5 separate regions of the Homo sapiens genome follow, and regions 2, 3, 4 and 5 are each linked to region 1. The links are contacts of gene promoters, found by promoter capture Hi-C in blood cells and fetal thymus (Javierre and others, 2016). All regions are on one chromosome and are shown on one strand. Each heading gives the region's core, a stretch centred on a gene start or on the middle of the fragment in contact. The rest is flanking DNA. Distances are from core to core; before and after follow the strand shown.

Region 1 (2,514 bases), core at 8-2,507:
GGCTAATTTTTTGTGTTTTTAGTAGAGACAGGGTTTCACCGTGTTAGCCAGGATGGTCTCGAGCTCCTGACTTCGTGATCCGCCTGCCTCGGCCTCCCAGAGTGTTGGGATTACAGGCGTGAGCCACCGCGCCCGGCCTGTAACTGGGTTTTATGCTGACTTGAGGATTTTAGCCAAAAACAAATACCAACAACAACAAAAGAAAACCTTGTTAACTCACTCCTTTGCTCCAATATAATTTTATTCATAAAATAATCACTTATTAGATATTGATTACAGGCAAAATTATACTTTGTTAGACACTTAAAAAATTCCTGGAAGCTGGGTGCAGTGGCACGTGCCTGTAGTTCCGGTTATTCAGGACACTGAGGAGAAAGGATTGCTTGAGCCCAGGAGTTTGAGTCCAGCCTGGGCAATGTAGCAACAACCTATCTCTAAAAAATAAAATAAAAATACCTGGATCTACCTTTTTTCTTTGGTCATAAATAAGTTGACTGTGATGGTCACTTTTATTTCTATTGAGGCTAAGATCCCAGGTCCTGGAGCAGGCCAGCCCCTTCTCTCTGCTGTGTGATTCTGAGTAAATGGGTTCACCTCTCTGAACTCAGTTTCTCCATGTATAAAGTGGAATCAGAATTCCTCCCCTAAGGATGGCTGGATGAGAATTCCATACAATGCTTGTGAAGCTGGCACAATGCCTTGCGTGTAGTAGGTGTTCAAGAAATGGTAGCTATTATTCGTGCGTGTCTTCTACATGAAGAAAGTCAGTCTGTGAGTTCTGTGACGGCATCCTATGGAAACGGTTGGGTGGATTTGCGCCCAAGTTGGAGAGTATGGTTAGCGTGATCTGACTTAAAACTTAGGCCACATGGCACATGGAAACTGGAGAGTGTCTGGGGTCCCTCACTTTAAGAACTAGAATTTTTCCAAAGGTTGCGTGTGACTCAATAGGAAATGGTGACCCCAAGAAACCAAAGAAAGGGAGTTGGTGGTTGTGGGGAGACACGGGAGAGCTGCACACCGTGCCCCTTGCCTGGCGCTGCTGGGCTTCCCACAAAGCCAGTGAGGTTCATCTGTCCCCAGGAAGTCATCAGAGACGGTGGCTGAGGAGACAGGCACTGGGGGCCTCCGTGGACCCGCTATTGGAGTGAAGTGGCCTGGATGGAATTGGGTGGACAGGGTGCTGCCTCAGCAGGCTGGGATGTGCTGGGCTGTCAGAAAGTGCTCATAAATAGCATGCCCCTTGCGAAGACAGGCGAGTCTGCAGACGGCCGTGGCTCCTCTGTTCTTCCCGAGGCTACAGCAACAGGTTCATTCTGGGATGGGTTGGGGGTGGGGAGGCAAAAGCCACCCTGGCAGGCCCGGACCTTTTGTAGTTTCTGTGGGACGCGCATGGCTGACCGCCTGCAAAGAAAAACAGCGCCTCCCTTAAGGGTCAGGTCCCAGTGAGAGGACCCTGACAGCCCAGCTGGGGGTGGAACGAGGGACCCTTGTCTGCAGTGGCCAGGGTCCAAGCCCCTGGACATGTGCTTAGGGCAGGGGACCTTCCAAAACAGCTCCTCTGAGGGAGGGGAGTGGGCACACATGGTACCTGCCAAGTCCCCCGAGAGTCCCCTGTGAGCTGGACCAAGCCCTGTTTCCTGCTGAGGCTAGGAGAGACAGAACCGACAGCCCGCAGGCTGTGCATGGTTAGGCCCACATCCAGAGTATGTGGGCTGTGCAGCTGTGCATGCTGGGGTGGCCGTGCTGGGAGCCGTGGGTGGGTAACAGTTGGATGTGGGGTGTAGATGTAGGTGCCTTGTTTACCACTGTGGATGTCTGAAATGGGCAGGGATGTGTGTGTGTGAGGAGAGAGAGAGAGAGAGAGAAAGAAGCTGTCCTGTGAGCCCATGGGTGAAATATAACTGATAGTGACCATAGAAACTTTTGCGAGTGTGTGCACCTATGTGTGTGTGCTGACAAACAGAACAGTCCTGTGTGTGTCCATGGGTGCAACAATGATGAGAATCCTTCCATGTGACTGCGGCAGGGGCCTGTATTGCGTGTCACTGTCCCTGTAGCAATGAAGAACTGTCGGTGTCTGGGTCTTGAAGTGGCTGGTACACAGTCGTGTTCAATAAATGCTTAAGGAATGAGTAACCGAACGCAGGGAAACTGACCTGGAGCAGGTGTCCAACGACCTGGTCTTACAAGCCTTTTCTCTAGAGGTCTGTCTGTCCACCTCCCGACATATGGGGTCTCCTGTCCCTCCTGGTCACCCAGCCCAGAGCCTGGCACTGTGTAGGTGCTCATGGAATATTTGTTGAATAAAGTAACCAGTGAACAAAAGAGTTCCTGGAGTACGGAGGTGGGAGAGACCCCTGTAGAGGAAACTCCCTGAAGCCCACCCTTTAGCCAGGTTCTGGGGGTGGGACATCTGCAGAGAGCTCTGAGAAACCTGGGTTTCGGGGAGCATCTGGATCAGGGGAAAAGGGCACGGGCTTTGGAGCCAGGCCCGACCCAGGCCACTTCCTC
Region 2 (2,514 bases), core at 10-2,509, 1.1 Mb after region 1:
AGGGTCTCTCTTTGTTGCCCAGAATGGTCTTGAACTCCTGGCCTCAAGCAATCCTCCCACCTCAGCCTCCAAAAGTGCTGGGATTACAGGTGTAAGCCACTGCACCTGGACTCCCTACTCTGTGTTTATCTGCCTCGAGGTCTCCTACTCTTTCTTGAGGTTTCAGAGCAAGAAGCATCACCTACTGCAGGAATGCTTCCATGATGCCCCTAATCTGAGTTTGTCCTTACTTTCTCTGTCCTTACTTTGGTTATAACTCCTGCCACAATCCCTGGCTTACAAATCTAAATAGATCACTACTCTGTGACCCTTCTGAGCTCAGCACAGTGCCTGGCTCATAGTAGATGCTCAAAAAAACAAACAAAAAAGAACATTAAGGAGAAGGAGACAAGAAAAGGAGAAAGACATGAGAGAGAAAGAAGACAGAGAGAGGGAAAGAAGAAAGGAAAGAAAGAAATGTGAGTTTGTATCTGTCCATGATTGATGAAGCCAAAGGTGAATTATCTGGCATTCTTTCAATTAGAGATCAATTTTATCTAGCATGTCTGAGATGGCACATGTTTCTGTGGTATAGTGAAGTGATTTCTGGATTATTAACTATCCACTGTGGTTTAATTATTTAGTGTCAAGGTACTTTCTTGCATTGGAGTCTTTGAAAATGTGTCATCCTTTAACAGTATGAATGGTGACAGGTTTGAGCATATCTCATAAGTAAGGTGCCTCCATCCCACCTCTGCCCTACCCCTTAAACATAATGGATCATTCAGTTGACTCTGAGGAATTTGCCCCGTGATAAATGGAAAGATCATTTCACCTTATATAAAAATGCAAGTTGTAATTAGCAAGCTGTCAGCATGTTCTGCACTGAAGAAGAATGAAAGATGCAGGTCATAGCCCCAGCCTGTAGCCTGGTGCCTAACACAGAGATGTCACCTAAGAAATGGTTGCCAATAATGGGAGTTTTGAAGGTGATTCTTCTTACAATGCAGCATTTGACTTTGCAATGAGTCCCATGCAGCCAAGACCATTGCATCAATGTGTCTTCAAAAACCCAACTGACGGCCGGGCACAGTGACTCACGCCTGTAATCCTAGCACATTGGGAGGCCGAGGTGGGCAGATTGCCTGAGCTCAGGATTTGGAGACCAGCCTGGGCAACACGGTGAAACCCCATCTCTACTAAATACAAAAAAAATTAGCCAGACATAGCAGCATGCACCTGTAGTCCCAGCTACTCGGGAGGCTGAGACAGGAGAATTGCTTGAACCTGGAAGGCAGAGATTGCAGCGAGCTGAGAGTGCCACTGCACTCTAGCCTGGGTGACAGAGTGAGACTCTGTCTCAAAAAAAAAATGACTTACAAATCTTTGTGTCACATTTGCAGTCTATGTCAATCTTACCCTCAGCTTGGGGTTAAGACACATAGCCTGGAGCCTGACACATACACACTTAACAAATTTTGTATTGCCTGAAAAAGTTAATCAAGGGTTTATTGAATGCCCATTCTCTATTTCACATGACTCTCCCTCTTCTCTGCCCTCCAAGCCTGAATCTGAGCAACAGTGACATCTTGACCATCTACGATGGCGACGAGGTCATGCCCCACATCTTGGGGCAGTACCTTGGGAACAGTGGCCCCCAGAAACTGTACTCCTCCACGCCAGACTTAACCATCCAGTTCCATTCGGACCCTGCTGGCCTCATCTTTGGAAAGGGCCAGGGATTTATCATGAACTACATAGGTAGGTGTCTCATCTGGTCAATTTATTTTTTCTTTGTGTTTAGATACAGGTTAAGGTGGTTTCCTCTAGGTTATTTGGCAGTTTTGTACTACAGCGATTTTTCATTGTATTGTATTGAAATGTACTCATTTCATTTTTAAAAGCCTGGGCTCTCTAGTCATGAGGACCAGGGTTTGAGCCCTAGCACGGTCATCGATGTCTGTGTGGCTTTGGGAAAGTTACTGAACCTCTCTGAGCCTTCTTTTTGTCATCTGTAAGATGGGCATAGTGATACCTATTCCACAAGGTTGATATCAGGATGTAGTAGACAATGCCTCATAACTTATGTTTCATGTGTGGTCAGCTGAGAACCTGTTGTCCCCATGTTTCATTTGTGGTCAGCTGAGATCTTACATCAACATACTTCCTAATTTCTTCCCAATTTGTGCAACTTCTCAAACATCGTCTTCACCTTCTTGCCCGAACTGAAGCTCAGCTCTCCTCTAAGGCCTCTTCTTTTCCTGTAGCCTCGTTGAACAAGGACAGCCTTCCTTTCGCACTTCTTGTACTTTAGGAGCTATAGATGCAAAAGATGTCTTTCCTCATCCTCAATGTGGCCTCCAAACCATGTCTCTCCTGCTCCTCCTAAAACAAACAAAACAAAAAAAAAACCTGCTATCAAATTCAAGCTAAGCTCACACACTCCTATGACCCCTCGTGTGCTTTCATCCAATCACACTCTTCCCTTCTCATTCCCCACCCTGTAACTCTCCCTCATTCATTACTAGCTCTACG
Region 3 (2,514 bases), core at 5-2,504, 1.1 Mb after region 1:
TTGCATGGTATCTGGCACATAGTTGGTGCTTCATAAATGGAGACTACTATTATCAGGAATCCTCAGATAAGGCAGATATTATCATTACCACTTTATGGGTTGGGTATGACAGCACAGAGAGGTTACGTGGTTTCCTCAGGTCACACAGCTAGTAAAGACGGAGCACACACCGTAGCCTCCACTTCCACTGACTTGAACAGCTTTCGGGGCACCAGCTGTGTGTCTCGGCAATGTAGCAGCGACACGGGAAGGCTCCCAGGCCTGTAGGGACTCAAAGTTCAGGAAGGGACACATAGCCATAAACAGACAGCCTGGCAAAATGTAAGCAAAGTCCTGTGGCTTGGAGGGTGAGTTGAGGAGGTAGAGGGGAACTAGATTTATCTCCGTGAATTATGGAAATATCCCTGAGAAGGTGACATCCAGAAGGAATCTTGAAGAGTGCCAGTTGCCCGGAGTTAATGGGAGAAAAGTGTCGTGAGCAAAGGATTCAAGCAGTGATGACAGTGACCATTAGGCATGAAATGAATGCTCTGAATCACAGCATCAATTACAACCATCTGCCCCACATTGTTGGTGTTGGAGGAAAGAAGGAGGTTGCACCAACTTGGGATGAGTCAGGAGCCCTCAGGCTAAACCTTCTTCACACCCCAAATGCCTCCCTAACCCACCACGTATCCCTCCCAGCTCCATCAGAAATCTGCCTCTTCCTCTAAAAACACAACTGAACAGAAACTTTTAAACCCTAAGGGCCTTTTCATATTGCTCTCCTCTCACTCTCTCTCATTCATTCTCTCTCCACACCCCTTCCCCAACTCTCAAAATAAATTACGGAAAGGAGAATAAGGGAACTAACATTGGTGAAGGCATCGTAGAATAGAAGATCCGAGAGGGGCCCCAAGTGGGCAGGTAACTTAGCAAGTATCACACAGCAAGAGAGGACCAGAAAGACAACTTGCTTGTGGCCACAAGAGCTCAGCACGGGGGCCACAACCTTGAAGATGCCTTGCAGCCAAGGAGACATAAAAGCGCCTAGAGTCAAAAAGAGGTGCATGTAAGTGCATCCTGATGTTCACCAGCTCTGTGGCCTCAGGCAGATTATTGAAGGTGCTGGTGCCTGCACCCACAATGGGATATTTTGTTCACTTTATCCCCAGTGTCTGGCACAAAGAAAGTGCTTGATAAATATCTGTTGAATGAAAGAGACGGTAAGGCTGGGCACAGTGGCTCATGCGTGTAATCCCAGCACTTTTGGAAGCCAAGATGGGAGGATCGCTTGAGCCCAGGAGTTCAAGACCAGCCTGGGCAACAAAGCAAGACCCCGTCTCTACAAATAATTTAAAAATTAGCCAGGCATGGTGGCTTGCAGCTGTGGTCCCAGCTACTTGAGAGGCTGAGGTGGGAGAATCACCTGAGCTCAGGTGTTGAGACCAGCTTGGGCAACATAGTGAGACCCTGTTTCTAAAAAGAGAGAGACAGAGAAGGTGGGTGTGTAAATTAATTAAATAATGTAAAAATTAAAATAACAGATAACATAAGGTTTCTGACACAAGATAGGCAGATAACCATAGCTAACACTACTTTTACCCCTACTATATCCCAGACTTTATGCTAAATACTGGCACACATTATCTCATTGATGATGATGATGATGATGATGATAAAGACCAACAGCTGACATTCATTGAGTACTTACAATGTGCCAGTCTTTACATGCTTTTTTTACCTATAGTAACTCATTTCACTCTCCAATGCAATATCAGTACCCTATGCAATATCTACATCACGTCAGTGTGACTACTCCTTTGTACAGATGAAGAAACTGAGGCTGAGAGAGATGAAACTGCTTGCCCAAGGTCACACAATTAGGATGTGGCCAAGTCAGGACTTGAACCCAGGTCTCTAAGACCAAAGCCAGTTTTTAACCACACACACACACACACACACACACACACACACACACAAACACACACACACACACAAACGGTAGGGAAGTGCTCCACATGAGAGAAATTCCGAGCTCCATCTTACAGAAGAAGAAACTGAGGCTCAAAGTGTTTCCTGCTCCCCGTTTCCTGGACATCTACTGCGAACATACATCCATCTCTGCAGGGAAAAAGTCTCAATCAGGCTCCAGCGTGCCTTCCTTTGCTCCTCTGCAGAGTTCCCAACATTGCTCCCTGTTTATGAGCCCCAGCACAGTTCTCTAACCAGGAAATAAAAGGGCCTAATAACAAACCCAGGTAACCATATGATTGATAGCTGCAGAACAGTCCTCTTCAGCTGCTGCCAACCTGTTCTGTGCTAAGTTAATTCCAAGCCCTAAAAATTAAGTGCCTTGTCCAGAGGCACTTCAGTTCTTCAAACAGAGATATAGCTGCTTTGGACTGTAAGAATTCTACCTGAGAGCCAGGAAAGGAGGAGAGAGATTCAGGAGTTGAGGACAACGTTAGCCCTGGGAGAATAGATTTCCAGATATCAGCAAAAATCACAGGAGAAATGGCCACGACAAAAATA
Region 4 (2,514 bases), core at 12-2,511, 1.1 Mb after region 1:
AACTCGATGAGTTTGAGAAAGCAAATAAATAAATAAGATCAATCTGACTAAACTGCAGAGAAAATATCAGGACAGGAGGCTGGGGCAGTGGTCAGAAACTGTATTGCTCAAGGTCATGAGAAGACAGGTGGACTAGGTAGGAGATATCTGGAAAAATTTAAGCATAAGGGTGATCATTCTGACTTCTATTTGGCAAAAATGATTGAGGATGGTCAGAGTGGATCCATGGAAATCAAGGTGGACAATATCTACTATTTCACTTGAACTCAGGGAGATAAGATTACCACTTTCATAGGCAAAGAGAATGAGGCTTAGAGAGATGAAGTAACATACTTGAAGTGGCGAACTTAGTCCAGATCCCTTCTCTCCTGAGCTCCTCCCCTTACAGCTTCCTTACTCAAAGTGTGGTCCTCGGACTAGCAAAATTATTAGAAATGCATAATCCTGAGCCCCATGCAAAACCAAATGAATCAAAATTTTCACTTTAACATGGCCCTTGGGTGACTCATATGCACATTACACCTGGAGAAGCACTGGTTTGTAACGCACTGTCCCTGCACCAGTGGGCACAGCCTTGGCCATCTTCAGCTATCAAGAGAGCAAAACCCTTTTAGAATTCTCAAAAGTCCTGATGGTGGTTGAGAGAGTATAGGTTGCCCTGCCACCTACTATGTGCCAGGCTATGAGCCATGTGTGAAGAGAATATTGGAACTAATGAGACATAATTCCTGCCCTCCAGTTATTCATAGCCAAGTGGAGCTCAAAAAGGAAATGAGAGCTAATGATAAATTCTGAGATTCAATTGTTACAGTATTGTTCCCCCAAGGCCCTTCAGAATTTTTCTTTCTTTTTTTTAAACAAAGATAAAATTCCAAACCATAGGGCAGTTGGTCTTCACGCCTCTCTCACATTAATTTTTATCTATGTGTGAAATCAGGGAGGAATTAAGCTTCCATTTGTGCTAAGAAAGATGGATGGGGAGCCACGGCTGGCAAATTGAAGCCAAACAGAGCCATCAGTTGGCTTAATCAGGCAAAGAAGGGAAGCAGAGAAGCCGCAAACGATCAGCAGCTTGGGAGGACAGATGGCCAGAGCCCCCCACCAGGGACAGTGTCCTCCATTTCTCAGCTCCTGAGCCACAGGGCAATAGAGCTGGCTATGTTTTGAGTGCCCACTCTGTGCCAGGGATGGCATGAAGCTCCCCATGCCCATCGTTTCATTGATTTCTCACTACTGTCCTATAAGGAGGGTGGACTTATCACCATTTTACAGTGGGTAAACATGTGACTTGTCTTAGATCCACAGCAGATGACTGGCAAGGTTTCAACCTAGGGCTGGCTTATTTCACAGAACAATCTCTCCTCTAGGACAGAAGGGCAGCCTGGAGAGAGAAATGAACCTAGCTTTCTGTCTGTGGTCCTGAAAGAAGTATGGAGCTTCTTGGCAATGTCTTTGCTGTAGGTCACAACACAGTCTGGAGCAGAGATAAGAGTTATCCACCGTTCTCTGCTACTGCAAGCCCCATTCAGTCATACTGTCATTCAACAAACATTTAATGGGTACCTGCTATGTATCAAGCTTTGAGCTGATATTAGAGATACAAAAAGGAAAAAATATTTATTCTTTCATTCAACAAACATTTTATAAAGCAACTACTATATGCCATATACCTTTCTGGATTAGCAGGTTATCATAAATAAGACAGACAGTGGAGTAGTGACTTCGATAAGAGATACTGGAGTGAGGCAGCCTGAGCTTGAGTCTCAACTGCTCCACTTATTATGTGTATGTCCTTGAGGAAGTGGCGTAATACCTTTGAACTTCTTTTTTCCTCTTTTGCAAAATTAATCGTGGTTATTCAGTAAATATTTACTGAGCACATTCTACATACCAGGAGCTCTTCTGGTTGCTGGTAGTGTGACTGAAAGCAAACAAACAAAAAGTAGTCCTAGCTTTTGTGGAACCTACAAACCCCTTAGCCATCTGTGAGATGGTTCCAAATAACCTGTCCCACTTTTGCTTCCTCTCCTATATCTCTGAAAATGAAGGGGGAACCAAGCGTCCTGTGCTTGGGAAGGAAATATTTTTCAAGCTCCTTTGATCCTCATAAAAGATAGAAATGGCTCCCAAGACTTGAAACCCTGGTCATGGTGTAGGGCTTTACTCAATCGTGGCCCTGGGCTATTCTTCACATCCCTTCCTCCTGGACTGACTGCCACGCTCTGTGAGAAGCATCTGCTACCCACCATCTCTCCTCAGAAAATTCAAAACTGGCTGAGTGCTGTGGCTGATGCCTCTAATCCTTACATTTTGGGAGGCCAAGGCAGGTGGATCACGAGGTCAGGAGTTCGAGACCAGCCTGGCCAAGATGGTGAAACCCCATCTCTACTAAAAATACAAAAATTAGCTGGGCGCGGTGGTGGGCACCTGTAATCCCAGCTACTCAGGAGGCTGAGGCAGGAGAATCACTTGAACCTGGGAGGCAGAGGTTGCAGTGAGCTGAGATCGTGCCAT
Region 5 (2,514 bases), core at 12-2,511, 1.0 Mb after region 1:
AACTGGGGTGTCAGGATCCAAGAGAGGGGGCAGGGGAGTCATTCTGAAACATCACGTTAGCTCCTTGCTGCATCTTGGGAAGTTCCCAGGAAAGACAGATTGGCCCGAATTGGAACCCAGGTTTGTGTGATCCCAAAGCCCACGCTCTCTTGGCTCCAGCTAGGCTGGACCTTGGGGGAAGGAAATAATGGGGCCAGCAGAGAGAGGGGAACTTAAGCCAAAGAAATGTTCCATCTGAAAGCCAGTGCATTCCCTCCCTAGCAGCTGCGAGTAAAAAATAGAGTGGGTCGGAATTAGCAGACCTTTTTTTTCCTTTCTAATTTATAGCTCATTGGTTGACGTGCTCCTTGGGAGAACGAACGTCTTGCTCTCTGGCTTGGCAGCAAAGTCAATGACAAAGTACTGACAGCCCAGAACAGCATTCTTCCTCTGTATGAGGTCATGAATAAGGCTGGGGGCTCATCTCTATGCCTGGGCATCTCAGCAGAAGGTGGGGAAACCCAACTGCTGGCTTGATAGCCACAATAGGCCTATTTCTGAAGCTCATTTTCCCAAACATTTAGTAAACTATATACTGTGCTCTAGGCACCAGAGAAATAAAGGCAAATAGAGCACAGCCCCTGTCCTCAGTCTAGAAGGGACACAGCCACATATACAAATAATTACAGGAAAGTGTGATGAAAACTGCAGTAGCAGAGAGAAATGACCTCGGGTATCAGGGAAGGCTACCTGGAAGAGGTGATATTTAAGCTAAGTCTTGACAGATTAGTAGGAGTTCAACAGGGTAGAGATACCCCCAACGGCTGATACTGGGAGGAATTCAATAAATGTTAGTGTCTTATTCTGTTTCCTAGTGCTTTCTCGGATGTTGCTTTTGTGTGTCTCACCATATTGCGTGTTCACTGGGAATGGGAAATATGCCTTTGCCTTCTCTTCCATCCCCTACAGTAGTGAAAACAGGACCTAGTCATAGAGCTAAGTCTCTCAAATTTGGCACTATTGGCATTTGGGGTTGGATATTCCCTGGTTTGGGACAGGAGGGTGGAGAAGGGGAAGCCCATTGTATGATGTTTAATAGCATCCCTGGCCTCTTCTCAATGGATGCCAGTAGCACCTCCTCCATATCCCCAAGCAAACATGTCCCTCTGGGAACAAAATCACTCTTGGTTGAGAACCACTGTCATAGAGTATCCATGTATTTATTCATCTACTTAATTTTCATTAATGAATTCAACAAACATTTACTCAATATTCACCATGGGCCAGACACATTGCTAGGTACTAGGAACACAGTGTTATATAAGATACAGCCACTGCTGCTGCCCTCAGAGTTGCCTGGCTGGAGGGGCAAAGAGACAAGGCTATGATGGGGAAGCACCGAGGCTGTGGGAGCATGTAGGGTGAGGGCATTTGAGATATGGACACATTCCAGGAAGGGTCCCTGGATGAGGTGATAAATAGACATTAGCCAGGTGAAAGAGAGGGAAGGCATTCTAGGCCAAGGAAGAAAGAGAAGGCATTCTAAGCCAAGAAAATGACAAGCAAAAGGCTTAGGGGCTTGAATTAACTTGCCCTTTTGGGGAAGTATAGCAGCTCATACCTGGAGCATGGATCTCCAAGGAGGACAGAGGGGTAGAATAGAGGACTCTCCAGTCATTGAGAAGAGTCTGCTTCATCCGGAGGGCCATGGGGAAGCCATCGGAGAATTCCAAGCGGAAAAAGAAGGAATATGATCAGATCAAGTAAGAAAAACTCTGGCTGCAAAGTGACAGAGAAGTTTCATGAAGCTGCATGAGTCACTGGGCTTGCGGCCTTGGAAGATGCTCTCATAACATCAGAGGCACCTCCTGGCCTTGGCCTGGCCTTGGCCCTGCACTTCAGGTTGGATCTTGCCCCCCTGTCTCGGGCAACTTGAAATCTGCATCTCAGGCTGCTGTGCCCACAAAAGCCTCCTTCCCGTCCACCAGTTTCCCAGCCATGACTGTCCCTCCAGGTGGATGCAGGAAAGTGTTTTATCTACCCATGCCATTAAACCTGCCACTGAGCCCAAATTGCCTTTGGAGTTTGAGGGCAGATGGCAGTGCAACGTGTGGCTCAGCTCTGGAGATTCGGCATGGCCAACCCATTAGTTCTCCTGGAGCTGAACAGAGGGGGACCGACCCTCTAATTGCTTGAGAACTTGGGTATTATTGAAACTCCCTCATGCCTGAATGATGTATGACTCTCACAGTGTGGCTCAGCCATTGCCAGCGGCTCTCCAAAACAGACCCTGTCTTATTTTTTATTCCATTTATTTATGCATTTGGTCGATCTCTCTGGGAAGGTAAGTTTTTAAAATACTGGGTATGGAAACAGGAGATAGTCAAACTTTCCGAGCCTGTGGACTTGATTGATTGAGGTTGTGACATTTATTTCCAAAGCATCCTTCAAAAAGTTGGTTATAGACTAAACCACCAGTTTCAAATCTGGGGTCCCCCTGACTCTAATAGTCTTTGAAAGGAGTGATGGGCAGGG

What was found. Contacts are between HindIII fragments. The CHiCAGO score rates a contact against its expected background, and 5 or more counts as called.
Region 2: a contact is called between a fragment that was not itself captured here and the fragment with the promoter of CRYBB3 in region 1, in 2 of 17 cell types (M2 macrophages and M1 macrophages). The highest score is 8.2, in M2 macrophages.
Region 3: a contact is called between a fragment that was not itself captured here and the fragment with the promoter of CRYBB3 in region 1, in 2 of 17 cell types (M0 macrophages and M2 macrophages). The highest score is 6.6, in M0 macrophages.
Region 4: a contact is called between a fragment that was not itself captured here and the fragment with the promoter of CRYBB3 in region 1, in 3 of 17 cell types (M0 macrophages, M2 macrophages and M1 macrophages). The highest score is 7.7, in M0 macrophages.
Region 5: a contact is called between a fragment that was not itself captured here and the fragment with the promoter of CRYBB3 in region 1, in 1 of 17 cell types (M1 macrophages). The highest score is 5.8, in M1 macrophages.

Annotation. Positions count from the first base shown.
Region 1 is chr22:25,198,601-25,201,114 of GRCh38, forward strand. CRYBB3 (crystallin beta B3) reads left to right here and starts at 1,258. Exons shown (of 6, transcript NM_004076.5): 1 at 1,258-1,309. The HindIII fragment of the contact is 15,596 bases long and covers 1-2,514 here.
Region 2 is chr22:26,338,893-26,341,406 of GRCh38, forward strand. SEZ6L (seizure related 6 homolog like) reads left to right here. Exons shown (of 17, transcript NM_021115.5): 10 at 1,544-1,740. Among named protein-coding and RNA genes, the nearest start is that of ASPHD2, 89 kb to the right of the region's middle. The HindIII fragment of the contact is 3,843 bases long and covers 1-2,514 here.
Region 3 is chr22:26,322,142-26,324,655 of GRCh38, forward strand. The region is part of intron 9 of SEZ6L (seizure related 6 homolog like); the gene reads left to right. Among named protein-coding and RNA genes, the nearest start is that of SEZ6L-AS1, 77 kb to the left of the region's middle. The HindIII fragment of the contact is 3,742 bases long and covers 1-2,514 here.
Region 4 is chr22:26,301,800-26,304,313 of GRCh38, forward strand. The region is part of intron 5 of SEZ6L (seizure related 6 homolog like); the gene reads left to right. Among named protein-coding and RNA genes, the nearest start is that of SEZ6L-AS1, 56 kb to the left of the region's middle. The HindIII fragment of the contact is 629 bases long and covers 948-1,576 here.
Region 5 is chr22:26,234,150-26,236,663 of GRCh38, forward strand. The region is part of intron 1 of SEZ6L (seizure related 6 homolog like); the gene reads left to right. Among named protein-coding and RNA genes, the nearest start is that of SEZ6L-AS1, 11 kb to the right of the region's middle. The HindIII fragment of the contact is 3,611 bases long and covers 1-2,514 here.